2 separate regions of the Homo sapiens genome follow, and region 1 is linked to region 2. The links are contacts of gene promoters, found by promoter capture Hi-C in human tissues and cell types (Jung and others, 2019). All regions are on one chromosome and are shown on one strand. The core of a region is centred on a gene start or on the middle of the fragment in contact, and the rest is flanking DNA. Distances in the headings are between cores, read along the strand shown. Region 1 overlaps LINC-PINT (long intergenic non-protein coding RNA, p53 induced transcript). Region 2 holds the start of PODXL (podocalyxin like).

Region 1 (6,665 bases), core at 513-3,012, 510 kb before region 2:
AGAGCCCTTTCACTTGGCATAATGTTTCTGAGGTTCAACCATATTGTAGTATGTACCCGTGGCATGAATCAGAATTTTATTCCTTTTCATGGCTGATATGGACATACCAAATTTTGTTTATCTATTCACCGGTTGATGGATTTGGATTGTTTCCAGTTTTTGTCTACTGTGAATAATGGTACTATGAACATCTGTTTGCTTTTTGAATGGGCATAGTTTTAGTTTTTATAACTTTACTGAGTTACTCTTGATATACAATAAATTGCACATATTTAAATATACAATGAGTTTTGACATATGTATACACCCATGAAATCATTAGACATAATCAAATAATGAATATATACATCACCCCCAAACGTTTCATTGTGCTCTTTCCTTTGGAATCCCTTTCTCCCTCCTCTCCCAAGCCATCCTCTGATCTGCAGGCACTGATCTACTGTCACTACAGATTAGCTTGCATTTTCTAGAATTTCACCTAAATGGAATCAGTATTCTGTTTTGTAGGAAAAGGTGTCTGGCTTCTTTCACACAGCATGTTATTATTTTGCAATGCATACATGTCACTGTATGTATCAATAGTCCATTCCTTTTCATTACTGAGTATTATTCCATTCTATAGATATACCACAATTTGCTTATCCATTCATCTGCTGACAGACACATAAATTAGTTCCAGTTTTCAATCACAGCTAAAGCTGCTGTTTTAACCACGTCAGACCAATCTGGTTCATCTCTTCTGTAACAAAGTTGTGAGTTGTTTTTCAGTTGCCATGGGCCCCCAGGTTGAACATCATGTAAGCTGAGCATGTCCAGATGAACCAAGCATGCAACTATAGGGGCAACCTAAATGTTCCAACCAAGGAGAGGGGACTGAACTAAGAAGTGGAAGCCGGGTGTGGTGGCTCATGCCTGTAATCCCAGAACTCTGGGAGGCCGAGGCGGGCAGATCACCTGAGGTCAGGAGTTTGAGACCAGCCTGGCCAACATGGCAAAACCCCATCTTTACTAAAAATACAAATACTGGGCATGGTGGTAGGCGCCTGTAATCCCAGCTACTTGGGAGGCTGAGGCAGGAGAATCACTTGAACCCAGGAGGCGGAGGTTGCAGTGAGCTGAGATTGCACCACTGCACTCCAGCCTGGGTGACAAGAGTGAGACTCTATCTCAAAAAAAAAAAAAAAAAAAAAAAAGTGGATATGGCATAACAGGATCCAGAATCCAACCAGATTGAGCTCTGGCATAGCCCCATGTCAGGAGCCAGTCAGAAAACACCCCCCAGCATCACTTCATCACAAGATCCAATTGGATCACACCCTATTACCCTATGCTTATAAAACTCTACCCAACTACCAGCTCCAGGAGGCAGATTTGGGTGCTTCTTCCTGGCTCCTTGCCAGTCCAGTCATGATAAAGCTTATTTTTCCTCAAAAGCCAGCGCCATGGTATTGGCCTCCATGTGCCTTGGGAAGCAGGCCCATTGATTGCTTGCTGGGTGACACTATGAACATCATATACCAACTTTGCCTGGACACATGCTGTCATTTTTCCTGACAGCATACCTTGGAAATAGAATTGCTGAGTTACACATTAAGTGTATATTGAACTTTTTAAGAAACTGCCAAACTGTTTTCCATCATGGCCATACTGTTTTATATTCCCACCAGCAATTTGAGAGGATTCTGGTTTCCGCATATCCTTGTCAACACTTGGATTGTCAGTCTTTTTAATTTTAGCCATTCTGGTGGTTGTTGTTATGGCTTTAATTTGCATTTCCCTAATGAGTGAGTGGCTGCTTAGTTTAGTGGTCAGCCAGTGGATTTGGGCAGAGATTAAGCCCAGCCACCTTGCACCAGTAAGGCTTCCAACATCTGCAGATGGAACAGTCTGCATGGAAGGTAGCATTCAAAGTTGTACCCAGATCTCAAGTCTCTTCTGGCTTTCACTTTTTGCTGGGCTCTACTGAGTATCCCCTGGGCATGCAAAGTTTAGCTGTCTGCTACAGATGGTTGGGGAGCCATGTTAGCCCTCTATAGGTCTCTCATTTCTAGGATCTCCTTGTTAAATTTCTGGATGGTGGCCTCAAACTAGCAAACTTCAAACTCAAAGTAGCAAAGCTGTGAGTTTTTCATTATTAACTGATTATGCCACTTTTAGCTAGCAAAGCTGTGATTTCTTAACCCCAACCTTTACCCACACTTCAAATTGAGTCTATCATGTCTGATAAAACAGCAGTTCGACAACTGAGATAGTGGGCAAGGAGAGAAGAAACCCCATGCGAGAAGGCCACAACCCCTATCCTTCATACCCAAAGATTCAGTGTATCAATAACGCTTCTCAATCTATTATCTGCCTTTTGTTTCCAGTGCCCAGAAACGACCATTTTGGACAATCTCATCCAGTTTTACGCTTGTTTTATTCAGAAAGAGAATCACCTATCCTCTTCACATCACCATTAAGGGAAATGATCTTGGCTACTCATTTTTAATTCCTCAGTTTTCCACAGCATAAAGTATGACGATAATACAAAAATGAAGTATGACTATAATTCAACTCCAAGTATCAAATATAGAAATGCTCTCAAAGTTTGATAGAAAATTTATCATCAGAACGTGAATATTTTATATTAAGAGAGTGGCTCTTCCACATAGTACCAGCAAGCTAACATTATATTAAAGTACCAAAATAGCCAGTTCAGTAACTTTGAGACTCCTAGAAGATAAACTGGTTGATTGCTTGGACCTCAGCTGTGACTTGGCCACAAAACTCAAAACACAATCGATTCTGTGGTGTCATTAACAAAGTCTGACACAGGCAAAAAGCAAATTCTTGCAGTTCTATTAGTATGAGTATGTATTACAAATATTCTCAGCCCAGATTTTGTTACATTATACTTTTTCCAGTTATTTCACATGCTACCACAAAATCCTCAAGTATAATTTAGTTTTAACATTACTTCATATTTATATAATACAATGCTTTATAGTTGACTAAGCCCCTGCACCTACTAGTTCATCTGATCCTCATAAAAACCTCCTGTGGCAGGTAAAGCAAATATTACCCTCATTTTATACCTGCTGGAACTGAACACAGAGGGATTAAGTGTTCCACATAGCTAGGAAATCAGATCTAAAATCCACTTATTCTGGCAATATTTCATTTTGTGTGACCTTGGGTATTGTGTCTCTGCCTCAATTTCTTCAAATGTTTCAATAACTTCCTCAAAAGTAAGGAAAAGAAATTACACCCCAAACATCAGCTTTTTCAACATTTTCAGTTGACGAGAACTAGTCTTAACATTTGTTACCTTAACATTTTTAATTCCCGGAATGTGAATGCAGACACTGAGCAAGAAGCAGCCAAATTTCATAACAATTGCAAAAGCCACCTTTAACATACAATGCCAATCTCTACATTCTCTCTCTTTCTCTGTCTCTCCCCCGATCCCTCCCACCCCTCTGCCTCTTCCACAACACAATTCTATGAAATCATCTTAGGAGGGAAGCACTACACCTCCACCCCTAACACACACAGGTGGTGGTCTTAAATGTCATAAATCTAGTAGGCCATTTCAGAAAAATAACTTGAAATCTCTCTAACACATGCATTGGGAGAAACATGTAATTTCTCTCATCTTAAAAAACCAAAACCAAAACTTTCCTTGACTCTTCTGGACTTCACAAGTTACTCAAAAGAGAGTCTGTCTGTACTCACTCTTCAATCCAGTTCCTCCAATTCTCCCTGGAATCTGCTCCACTCTGGCTTTTGTCTCTACCATTTCACTGAAACCACTCGCCAAGATCACTAACATCCTCCTCACTGCTAAATCTTCTGATCAATTTTCAGCTGGCATCTTACCTGACCCATCAGCAGCATCTGACAAGGTGGGTTACTACTGCTTCCCTTGGTGTCTAGAGTATCACGATTTACACCTTCCTGTCTGTTCCTCAATCTGCCCTGCTGACTCCATGGGACCAGGAGAGGCCCCAGACCACTCTTCTCACTCCCTTGGTGGCCTCAATCCTTCTTATGACTTTGAACAACAGTTCAATGCTAATGACTTCAAATTTGCCTTTTTAATCCTGACCTCCCACTGAAGTCCAGACTCTGCCTACATGACCTTTCTGCTTAGATATCTAAAGAGGAATCTCAAATGTAATGTGTTTAAAACTGAGCTCCTAGTGCTGCCTCCAATCGGTCCCTCCACAATCCACCCCCCTATCTCAGCAAAGGCACCTCCACTCTCAGTTGTTCAGGCTGCAAACTGTGGAGTCTTCCCTGACACTCCTTTCTGTCTCTCATCTCATATCTAATTTCACAACATATAACTAGAATTCCGTCATTTCTCCTCACATCCCTTGCTTATGGTCTCAGGCACCATCTTGCAGCTGGGTCACTGCAGTAGCCTCACTGGGTCTCTCCGCTTCTACCCTTGCAAACACCCCCACCCCTAGCCCAGAGTATTCAAATCACATTACCTTCATTAGAAAGATCATGTTGCTTCTCTCCTTAAAATCCACCAATTCTTTTTCATCTCACTGGAAGCCAAAACCCATACAATAACCACTGCTCACACTGTTATGGGAAAGGGGTCCTGATCCAGACCCCAAGGGAGGACTCTTGTATCTCATGCAAGAAAGAATCTGAGGCAAGTCGATAAAGTGAAAGTAAGTTCATTCAGAAAGTAAAAGAATAAAAGAATGGCTACTCTATAGTTGCCCATTTTTATGGTTATTTCTTGATTATATGCTAAACAAGGGGTGGATTATTTATGCCTCCCCTTTTTAGACTATATGGGGTACTAACCTGACGTTGTCATGGCATTTGTAAACTGTCATGGTGCTGGTGGGAGTGTAGCAATGAGGACAATCGGAGGTCACTCTCAATGCCATCTTAGTTTTGGTGGGTTTTGGCCGGCTTCTTTACTACAAACTTTTTTATTAGCAAGGTCTTTAGGACTCGTATCTTGTGCTGACCTCCTATCTCATCCGGTGACTTAGAATGCCTAACTCTTTGGGAATGCAGCCTAGTAGGTCTCAGCCTTATTTTACCCAGCCCCTACTCAAGATGGGATTGCTCTGGTTTTTATGCCTCTGACAACATGACATGACCATCCATATCCTCTCATCTCCTCTTTTTTTTTTTTTTTTGGAGACAGAGTCTTGCCCTGTCGCCAGGCTAGAGCACAGTGGCACGATCTCAGCTCACAGCAACCTCTGCCTCCCAGGTTCAAGCGATTCCCCTGCCTCAGCCTCCTGAGTAGCTGGGACTACAGGCACCCACCACCACACCTGGCTAATTTTTTGTATTTTAGAGTAGATACGGGATTTCACCATGTTCGCCAGGATGGTCTTGATCTCCTGACCTCGTGCTCCACCTGGCCTTGGCCTCCCAAAGTGCTGGGATTACAGCCCCTTCACTCACTCCACTCCATTCACTAGCCTCCTCCTATTTTCAAACAAGCCAGGCATGCTTCTGCCTCAAGGTCTTTGCATTTGCTATCCTCTCTGCCTACAACACTCTTCCCCCAAACACCCACAGGCTCTTTCCATCAACTTCTTCACAACTTCTCACTGAGGCCTTCCCTAAACATTCTCTTTACCAGTCAACTCTTCAGCCCTTACTCTTGCCTGCCTTACATTTCTCCAAAGCACTCATTGCTTTCTAATATACTACATATTGTACTTTTTTATTTGTTCTTAGTCTGTATCTTCCTGCTAGAATGTTACCTCCATGAAGGCAGAGAGTTTAGTTCGTTTTGTTCACTACTGTATCACCAATACCTACAATACTGTCTGACACATGGTAGGCAGTCAATAAATATTTGATGAATCAAAGAATCAAATTCTTAAAACAATACAAATGTATATGAATTGATCCATAGGAGGACCAGAAAGTTCAAGAACTACAGAATGCTAGGTACTGGATAACTAAGAATGTTGATTGTATGTGATGATATAGATCAGTTCCATCCAAAAGAAGTATAATGCAAGCTACAACTAATTTTAAATTTTCCAGCAGTCACATAAAAAAGTAAACAAAAACAAGTGATATTAATTTTAATAACATGTTTTAATTCAATATATCCAAAATATTATCACTTCAAAATGTGAGTCATATAAAACCTAGTATTTTAGTCTTTTTAAATTTTTTTTTGAATTATGGTATTTTCTGCAGAGCACATTTCCGTTAGTACTACTCATATTTCAAACATCTAATAGCTACATGTGGCATGTGGCCAGTTGCTACCATATTGGACAACACAGATTTGGACCAAAATTAAATAATCCCACTGCAGTGGCGAATATCTTGTAGATTTATTCACTGTTTTTAGTTTAAGATTCCCAAACAAGGCCCTGGTACAACTTCATGGTTTACTAGTTTTGTCAAAACAGTTTCAAAGGATATAGTACGAGGAATAATAGCTCTTGTTCTGAGAAACCATTTGTTTTCAATGTAACTGACTCAACACTTAAAACACTTTAAACTTCATTCAGGTGTTTTGATTAGAAAGAATGAAAGCCATTCTTCCCTAGTCTGTTTGAGAAAGTTAAATCCAGACAGATTCTGTGATCTTATCTATATTAGTATTGGAAAAATCATTATTTTCAAATAGAAAGAACTATTAAAATTTTATTTCCACTAAACCAGTATTTATTTCAAAT
Region 2 (7,348 bases), core at 3,350-5,849:
AGCCTTAACCTTCAGCAGTTGCTCCCACCAGCTCTAGCTGCTGGAGAACAAGCCCACTGGCCAGACATCCCTTCCCAGGATGCAAACTCCCCTTCCAGGGAGCCTAAAGCCAGGGCTGAAGCCGGTTCCCCTCAGTTCTACAGTCCAGAGTATCCCAAGCGACCGCTCAGCGCTGGGTGCTGGGCTGGGCCCTGGAGGTGGTGATAAGTATGTTGTTGGCCCCTCGAGGGCCTCACCGCATGGTGGAGGAGACACACAGATCATGGAACACACTTTGGTTCTCCCTAGGAAACCAGGGAAGGCATCTCAGAGATGATGCCTGAGGGTGGCTAGGAGTGGCTCTTCCCCTCCCTCCCTGCAAGGGGGGGAATTCTAACCACAGGGAGTCTAGTCCCCTTCCCCTCTCAGCTTTCCACAGGGCAGTGGTGTTAAAACCCCAGGCAGCACCCTCCTCTCCTTTCAAACATGGGTTCCTGAGGAAAACCAGATGGGGGACAGCCTCCATGCCTCTTCCCCCACCTTCTCTAGGCCTGGGGGACACCCTGAGGACCCTCCTGGGCAGGCCACGCTCCCCTCCTCAGCCCTTCTCTGGACGACCACACTCCAAAGCTCTGGCCACACTGACACCAGGTGCTTTTGGGTCTGCCCTTGAATGGCTGGGCTCCTAACCCCGCCATGTCCAGCTCGCTCCTGCCTCAGATCCTGTCCCAAGCTGCACCATGCTGGGAACACCCACATTCCCCCACCCCAGCCCTGGGCACCTTGTTTTTTTCCTTGAGTCAGGGTCTCCCTCTGTTGCCCAGGCTGGAGAGCAGTGGCGTGATCTTGGCTCACTGCAACCTCTGTCTCCCACGTTCAAGCAATTCTCCTACCTCAGTCTCCTGAGTAGCTGGGACTACAGGCGTGTGCCACTACCATGCCCAGCTAATTTTTTTGTCTTTTTAGTACAGTCTTACTAGGTTGCCCAGGCTGGTCTTGAACTCCTAGGCTCAAGTGATCCTCCCACCTTGGCCTCTCAAATTTGCTGGGATTCCAGGCGTGAGCAGCCACACCCTGCCACCGTGGAATTTTCTCTCCAGTTCTGAGAGCTAATCTCCCCAAAGCCTCAATGACTCCATCTCAAGAACCACCATCACAGACTCCCCGACCCTAATCTGCATCTCCCCTACACACTACAATTCATAGAGCCTCAGCCACATTAGGAAACACTGACCCTTTTAATTTTAAAATCCCTATGTGAAAACCCCACCTCCTTCAGGAAGCTTTCTCCAGACCTCCAGACCACCCCTTCCAAATCTTATACTCTTTTCCATATGCCTCCCTCTCCCACAGAGTGGCACTGGGGCTTCAGTTTTTATTATCATATATCCACTGATACCCACAAACATTGGCAGGATCCCAATGCCTGGGGTCCCTTAAACCCACCAGGTGCTCAATATATATGCTTACTAATCATCATAGCTATTTTTTGAGTGTTGATCCTGAGTTGGGCGTAAAGCCAAGCCCATGATATATATACTCGCTCATCTTCATAGCAACCCACAAGGTAGGGCTGTTATTACTTTATAGATGAAGAAACTGAGGTTCAGGGAGGTCCACTATTTTGTCCATGGTCATGCACATCTCTCTGACCCAAAGTCTGAGTGTTTCCACCCCACCAAGCTGCCTTTCTGTTGCCCAGAATTCATCCATTGAACATCAGATTGAGAGTACTGAATCAGCTTGTCCTTTCAGTAGCTGAGGGAACACGGAACCCCAGATATCTTATCATGGTGGAACTAGAGGTCCCTTTGGTTCTTTTATTCTATCTCACAAATAACGAAACGGAGGCACGGAGATGTGACTTACCATTGTGGTTCTGCCAGATGGTTATCAAACCAAAAAGCACTGAAAGGGGGTCTGATGAATTGTCCAACCCTTAAGGTGAATGCTTTCTTTGCTGTAGGCTGCATAATCTGCCCATATATTGGAAGGTAAGCTGGGGGAGAGGGGCAGGGATGGACCTGTCTGGGGATAATTCCTTTGTTGCAGAGACTCGAGCTATAAATCTTTCTTGCTTTGAATCAAATCACAGGATTCCAGCAGATGGGGGGCAGTGTTTATGCTATTCCCGATGACAGCAGCCCAGGCGACCACACCTTCAGAAGGACAGGGATGGAGCTGGCCTTACTGAGTCCCTAGAGGGTGGTGTAGAATGCACCATAGCTACTGAACAGACCAATCTTGCCGCAACATGCCCCCCACAAGCCTTTTCTGGCCTCAATACATGCAAATCATCATCACCATCATGATCATCATCCTCTCCCCATCCCCCACTTAGCACTTTGCACTTTTCTAAGTGCTTCCCAACAGTGCTGCATACTATAATGCATACAGTGCTCAGATAGGCCAAGTTACTTGCTGGTTAGAGCAGGCACTGGGTTATGGTCATTTTTGTTTGCCACATACCAAACTTCTGCCATGTGCCAAACCCTGTGTTAGGCCAGAAGTGGTGCTTCATGGAAGAGACATGGTTTCTGGCAGTGCCCAGGTGCCAGGAAAAACAGTGCCATCCTTGAAGCCAGCAGTGAGCTGGAGTCAGAGCTTTGCCCACTGGTGACTTATGAACATTTCCTTTTAGGGCAGACAGGGAGGGTCTTGTCCCACAGTGCCTCCCACTCCTCAAAGGAAGGGTGGCTCAGCTTCCTTAAGCTCAGAAGCACTAGGGACTAACCCCTCTTTCCTGACACAGCCCAACGCCCTTCTGGGTGGTTCTAAGAGGCTTCCCAACAAAAGGTTCGTATGAAGGCCCACCCTGAAGTCCAGCTGTCCCCAGAGTAGGGCTAAGGAGCCACCATACTCTCGTGTCATCTCAACCCTGCATGTCGTGTGGCTCTTCAGTGATTGCCACTCTGAAAGCTGTTCTGACTGTTCCTCACACTGCAGCCCCTCTTCCAGGGACACACATTCTTCCCCCCGCCGGGACCTTCCCTTTCTAGTCAGGCTGGTGGAGTCTCCCGCCGGCCACAGGAGGATGCCCACGCCTGCCTGCTCCCTGAGTGCCAGCGCCTGCCCACTACCAAAGGTTTCCTGCGGTGCAGAGGAGAGACTGTACTGCCCTTCCATCTCCCCTGGCCCCTTAGAGTCCAGTCCCAAACTGCCGGCACCTGCTCACAGCAGAATCCCTACCCTGTCTGTGCTGTCCCCGCAGTCCTCCTGGCCCTAGGGTGATCACACCACCTCAGCTCTTCCTGCAGACATGTGCTCAGGTGGGCAAAAGAGAATGAGAAATGCACCTCTCCCGTGGGGCTGAGCTGACTCTGGCTGTTCCCTAGGGGCTTAAGAACACCTGTTCTGGTTGAGTTTGCAGCCATCGCCTGTCCCCCAAAAGGGAAAGAGTAACATTTCACCTTGAAAAGAAACAGGGAGGGGATGTTTCTGAGGTGCAGGTGTTTCATGAGAGACAGGTACATTTTCTAAGGTGTGTCTAAAATGCAGCCCAATCCTATTCTACGAGAGAGAAGTTCCCGTTTGAACAAGTTCCCGTTTGAACAAGAGGATTCGAGGGGGGTCTCACCATCGTAGCCACGCACTAAGAAGCGATTGTTTTAGGGACACGGAGGTAGGACCCCCACTCAGCCAGGTGACTCTGGGACTGTGGAAGGTCCACTTACGACTCTGTACCTGCCCCAGCACGGGCTCAAGGAGTTGAGCCTGCACACATTACTTAGAAAAAACCTCTGCAAACGGGTAAGTACATCGCCCGCGTGGGCCGTGGCTGGAGGCTTGTCACCTGCTTCAGGGACTTCCTCGGGAGCCTCTCGCCTGCCTCTTTGCCTGGAATTAACGAATACACACTACAGCCCCTCATTCCCTCCAACACGAAGGAAAGGTGTAATCAGATCCCGAGAGTCCCGCAGAAGCGTGGAGCCTCGCGGTGCGGTCTCCCTTTTCTTTCCCATGCAAACCCACTTAGCACCGGCGCGCCCCTGTTTGCCCGGGCAGAATCCACCGCCCACTCCTCCCGAGTGGAGAGTGGAGACGAATCTACGCCCAGGCCCTGCACCTGCCGCGCTGCGGAGTTTGGAGGGGGCGTGGATGGTGCAAGGTCAGGGCTCCGTGTGTGACCCCGGCGGTGATAGGGCTGCTCGGGGTCGGACCACGCGGCGCGCCGGGCTTCCCTGCAGCTCGGCCGGGCAGGGGGCACATGGGCACGGTGGGAGTCCCGGCGGAACCCAGGCCGGCCACTCACCATTCTGGGAGGGCGACGGCGACGGCGACGGCGACGACGGCAGCAGCGGCGGCGTTGACAACAGTAGCAGCAGCGCCGAGAGCGCCAGCGCGCAGCGCATCGTGTCGTCGCCTCTGGGCCGGGAGCAGGTGGCTGCGGTGCCGGCGGAGGATCCGCGCGTCCGGGCGGTAGGAGCGTGGGCGCCGCCCGGGGAGGCCTGTGGGTGGCTCCGGAGGCCAGGCTGTGGCCCGGGGCTCCCGAGTCGCGCTGCGGCGGCTCTTCCTCCCTGCCGCTGCAGCAGAGCCGGGCTGGGGCGCAGAGCCAGTGGCAGAGGAGCGGCGGCGGCGGCGGCTGCGTCCTGGGCGGCGTCTGCGCGGCTGCGGCCCCACTGGCGGCTGCGGCTACTCCTGGCCCGTCCCGTCAGCGCCGGCCCCCGCCCCCGCCCCCGCCCCTCCCCCTCCCCCAGGAGCCCGCCAGCGGCGGCGGCCGGGCCGGGCGGGGCCGGGGCCGGGGCTGGGCGGGCGCTGGGCCGTGAACAATGAGCAGAGGAGGAAACTCCGCCCTGGAGCGCGACGGGCGGGAGGGCCGGCGGCCTCCGCGCCTTGGGGGGCTGTGTGTGCGCGGGGGCCAGGGCGGGGGGCTCCTGCGGTGCAGCCGGGCCCCGTCCACAGGTGTCCCGAACAGGTGTGTCCCCCCGAGTGCTTCTAAGTGGGCCCGGCGGGATCCCCCAGCACACCGCCGGGGCCCTCGCACTACGAGCAAATCCGGAGCGGGCGGACCCCCAGCCTTGCGTGGTAACTGATAACCATTCACGGCCTCCCGGGCTGCTGCGCGTTCTGCAGCGACCCCGGAGAAGCTCATCTCCCACCTGCCAAGTGCAATTCACCTGCCTGTGGGGCCCCCATCCCGCACGGCTTCTGAGCGGGGTCTCTCTGCAGCTAGGTGTGCAGCGGGCAAGCTGGACTAATTCACTCCTTCACCTCTCCAAGGGTAGGTTCCTTACCTGTGAAATGGAGATGATGGTTAAAAAACAACAGCAACAACAATTTCAGGGATGAATGTGTGCCAGGCTTTACATATATTAATTCTTTTACTCTTCATGACAACCATATTTTTAGCCTCATTTTGCAGACAGGGCAATTGAGTCAAAAAGAGGTTAAGAAACTTCCTGAGGCCACATAACGGGTAAGTGGCAAACCTGCCTCTGAGAGAAGTTTGGAGAAATACCGTGCACCGTGCCTGGAATATAGTAATTGCTCTGCAAGGAGTGGTTATTACTCTTATTCCTGCTATATAAAGAACAGCTATAAAGATTAGGGCTTTTGGGTCAAAACAGGCTGGGGCTCAAAACCTAACTGTGCCAATCTATTAATTGTAAAACCCTAGGCAAGCTATTCTCAGTACCTCATTTCTTTTTATCTGTAAAATAGGGATAATAACACCTACCTCAGGGGGTTGTTGGGAAACTTAAATGTGATCTTACAAGATAATACTTAGCCTAGGGCCAGGAACACAAAAGTCTCAATGAATGAAGTAGTTCGCCCTCCAAGTGAGGATCAGAGATATTTGCACACTGGGGGTGGGAGTGGGTGTTGGAGAATTCCGTAAACTGAGTTTATCCGGTGAAAGAACAAAGAAGTTCCTTTCCCCTCCCCCGCTCCCCTCCTTTTTTCCACCCCCAAAGCTGCCTGGGAGACGCAGACCCCAGGCCCGCCTGAAGAGGAGGCACATCGGCGGAGCCGGGAAGCGGAGGGGGCGAGGGGTGATTAACCTTGGAACCCGGGTACGGCGTAAATTTGGCTCACGTGACTCCGGGGTTGCTAATCTGGAGTCTATCTGCCAGATGGGGCTGGGTGGAGGGGTTTTCTCCAGGATCTAGCCGCGTCCCGGGCACAGGGGACTCCGTGAGCCCCTCAAGTCGGCTGCAAGCAGGCGATGCCTGCAGGGCACTGCGTCCCTGGAGCCGCGAAGGAAGCGCTGGAGCCCTGGCTGGGGTTCCGTGGCAGCCGGCCTCAAGCTTGGGAAGGGCTGACGGGGTTGTTTTCATCAGGAAGTTTCTGCAGGATCGTTCTGGCCCCGTTTTCCACACCGCATATGGGAAAGACAGAGGGTGTTCCCTATGAATACTCTGGGATATTTGTGTGTGTGACTATCTTTGATGTTTTTTTAGTACTGTTCCCCTGATATCATGTCAACAAAAGGCTTGTTTCTCTTCTGAAACCAAGCAATATATATATATATTTTTTTTTACACTGGGATTTTAAAAAATGTGTATCGCACTCTGATTTAAACAGTGTTTTTGCACTCAATCATTCAATTTATCTAAAAACTCAGAAGCAATCATGTTAACTTTATAAAGAGAGAGCGTATATTTTGAAGCTTAGGGCATTTTAAATTCACATGATTTGGGATTGGTGCCATTACAAGATCATGCAAAATTAAAATGAGAGCAGACATCTGGGCTTAGAGAAGACATAGAAAAGTTACAATTGTGCTGGACTCTCCCCAGTATCCAACAGCCCCCCTCAACTTATGCACAACGTGGCTTTCTGGAATGAGGCTGGCTGGGTTTTGAGGTCACTGGTGGCCACTGAGATGAGCTACCCCCAGGTAACTGGCCTGTGCCTTTGGCCCCATTTAGCATTGTGCTCTAACTAGCAAGCTCGCCAGCCCAGAACACCTGAGCTTATATTTGAAACCCAAAGCACTTTATGGGTGCTGTTTTTGAAGCTTTTCATCAGGAAGTTTCTGCAGGATCATTCCTTCTGGGATTTGTTGCATTTTGGTTATTTGTATACATGCGTTAGCTCTCCTAGCAGACATTCAGCTTCTTTAACATGGCGTCTTTCTTATTCATCCTTTACTTACTCAGACCACCAAGAACAGCACATCACTTTTTTTTTTTTTTTTTTTTTTTTGAGACAGAGTCTTGCTCCTGTTGCCCAGGCTGCCTCCGCCTCCCAGGTTCAAGCAATTCTCCTGCCTCAGCCTCCTAAGTAGCTAGGATTACAGGCATCTGCCACCACACCCGGCTAATTTTGTATTTTTAGTAGAGACGGGGTTTCTCCATGTTGGTCAGGCTGGTCTCGAACTCCCGACCTCAGGTGATCTGCCCGCCTCGGCCTCCCAAAGTGCTGG

Evidence for each region. Contacts are between HindIII fragments. The study calls those that stand out against the background at their distance.
Region 1: a contact is called between a fragment that was not itself captured here and the fragment with the promoter of PODXL in region 2, in 1 of the 25 tissues and cell types used here (dorsolateral prefrontal cortex).

What each region holds. Positions count from the first base shown.
Region 1 is chr7:131,045,060-131,051,724 of GRCh38, forward strand. The region is part of intron 3 of LINC-PINT (long intergenic non-protein coding RNA, p53 induced transcript); the gene reads right to left. Among named protein-coding and RNA genes, the nearest start is that of LINC-PINT, 62 kb to the right of the region's middle. The HindIII fragment of the contact is 6,752 bases long and covers 1-5,138 here.
Region 2 is chr7:131,552,029-131,559,376 of GRCh38, forward strand. PODXL (podocalyxin like) reads right to left here and starts at 4,600. Exons shown (of 9, transcript NM_001018111.3): 1 at 4,232-4,600. The coding sequence starts at 4,331. RefSeq lists enhancers at 182-689, 4,988-5,535 and silencers at 4,221-4,730, 4,811-4,870, 4,901-5,020. The HindIII fragment of the contact is 6,040 bases long and covers 369-6,408 here.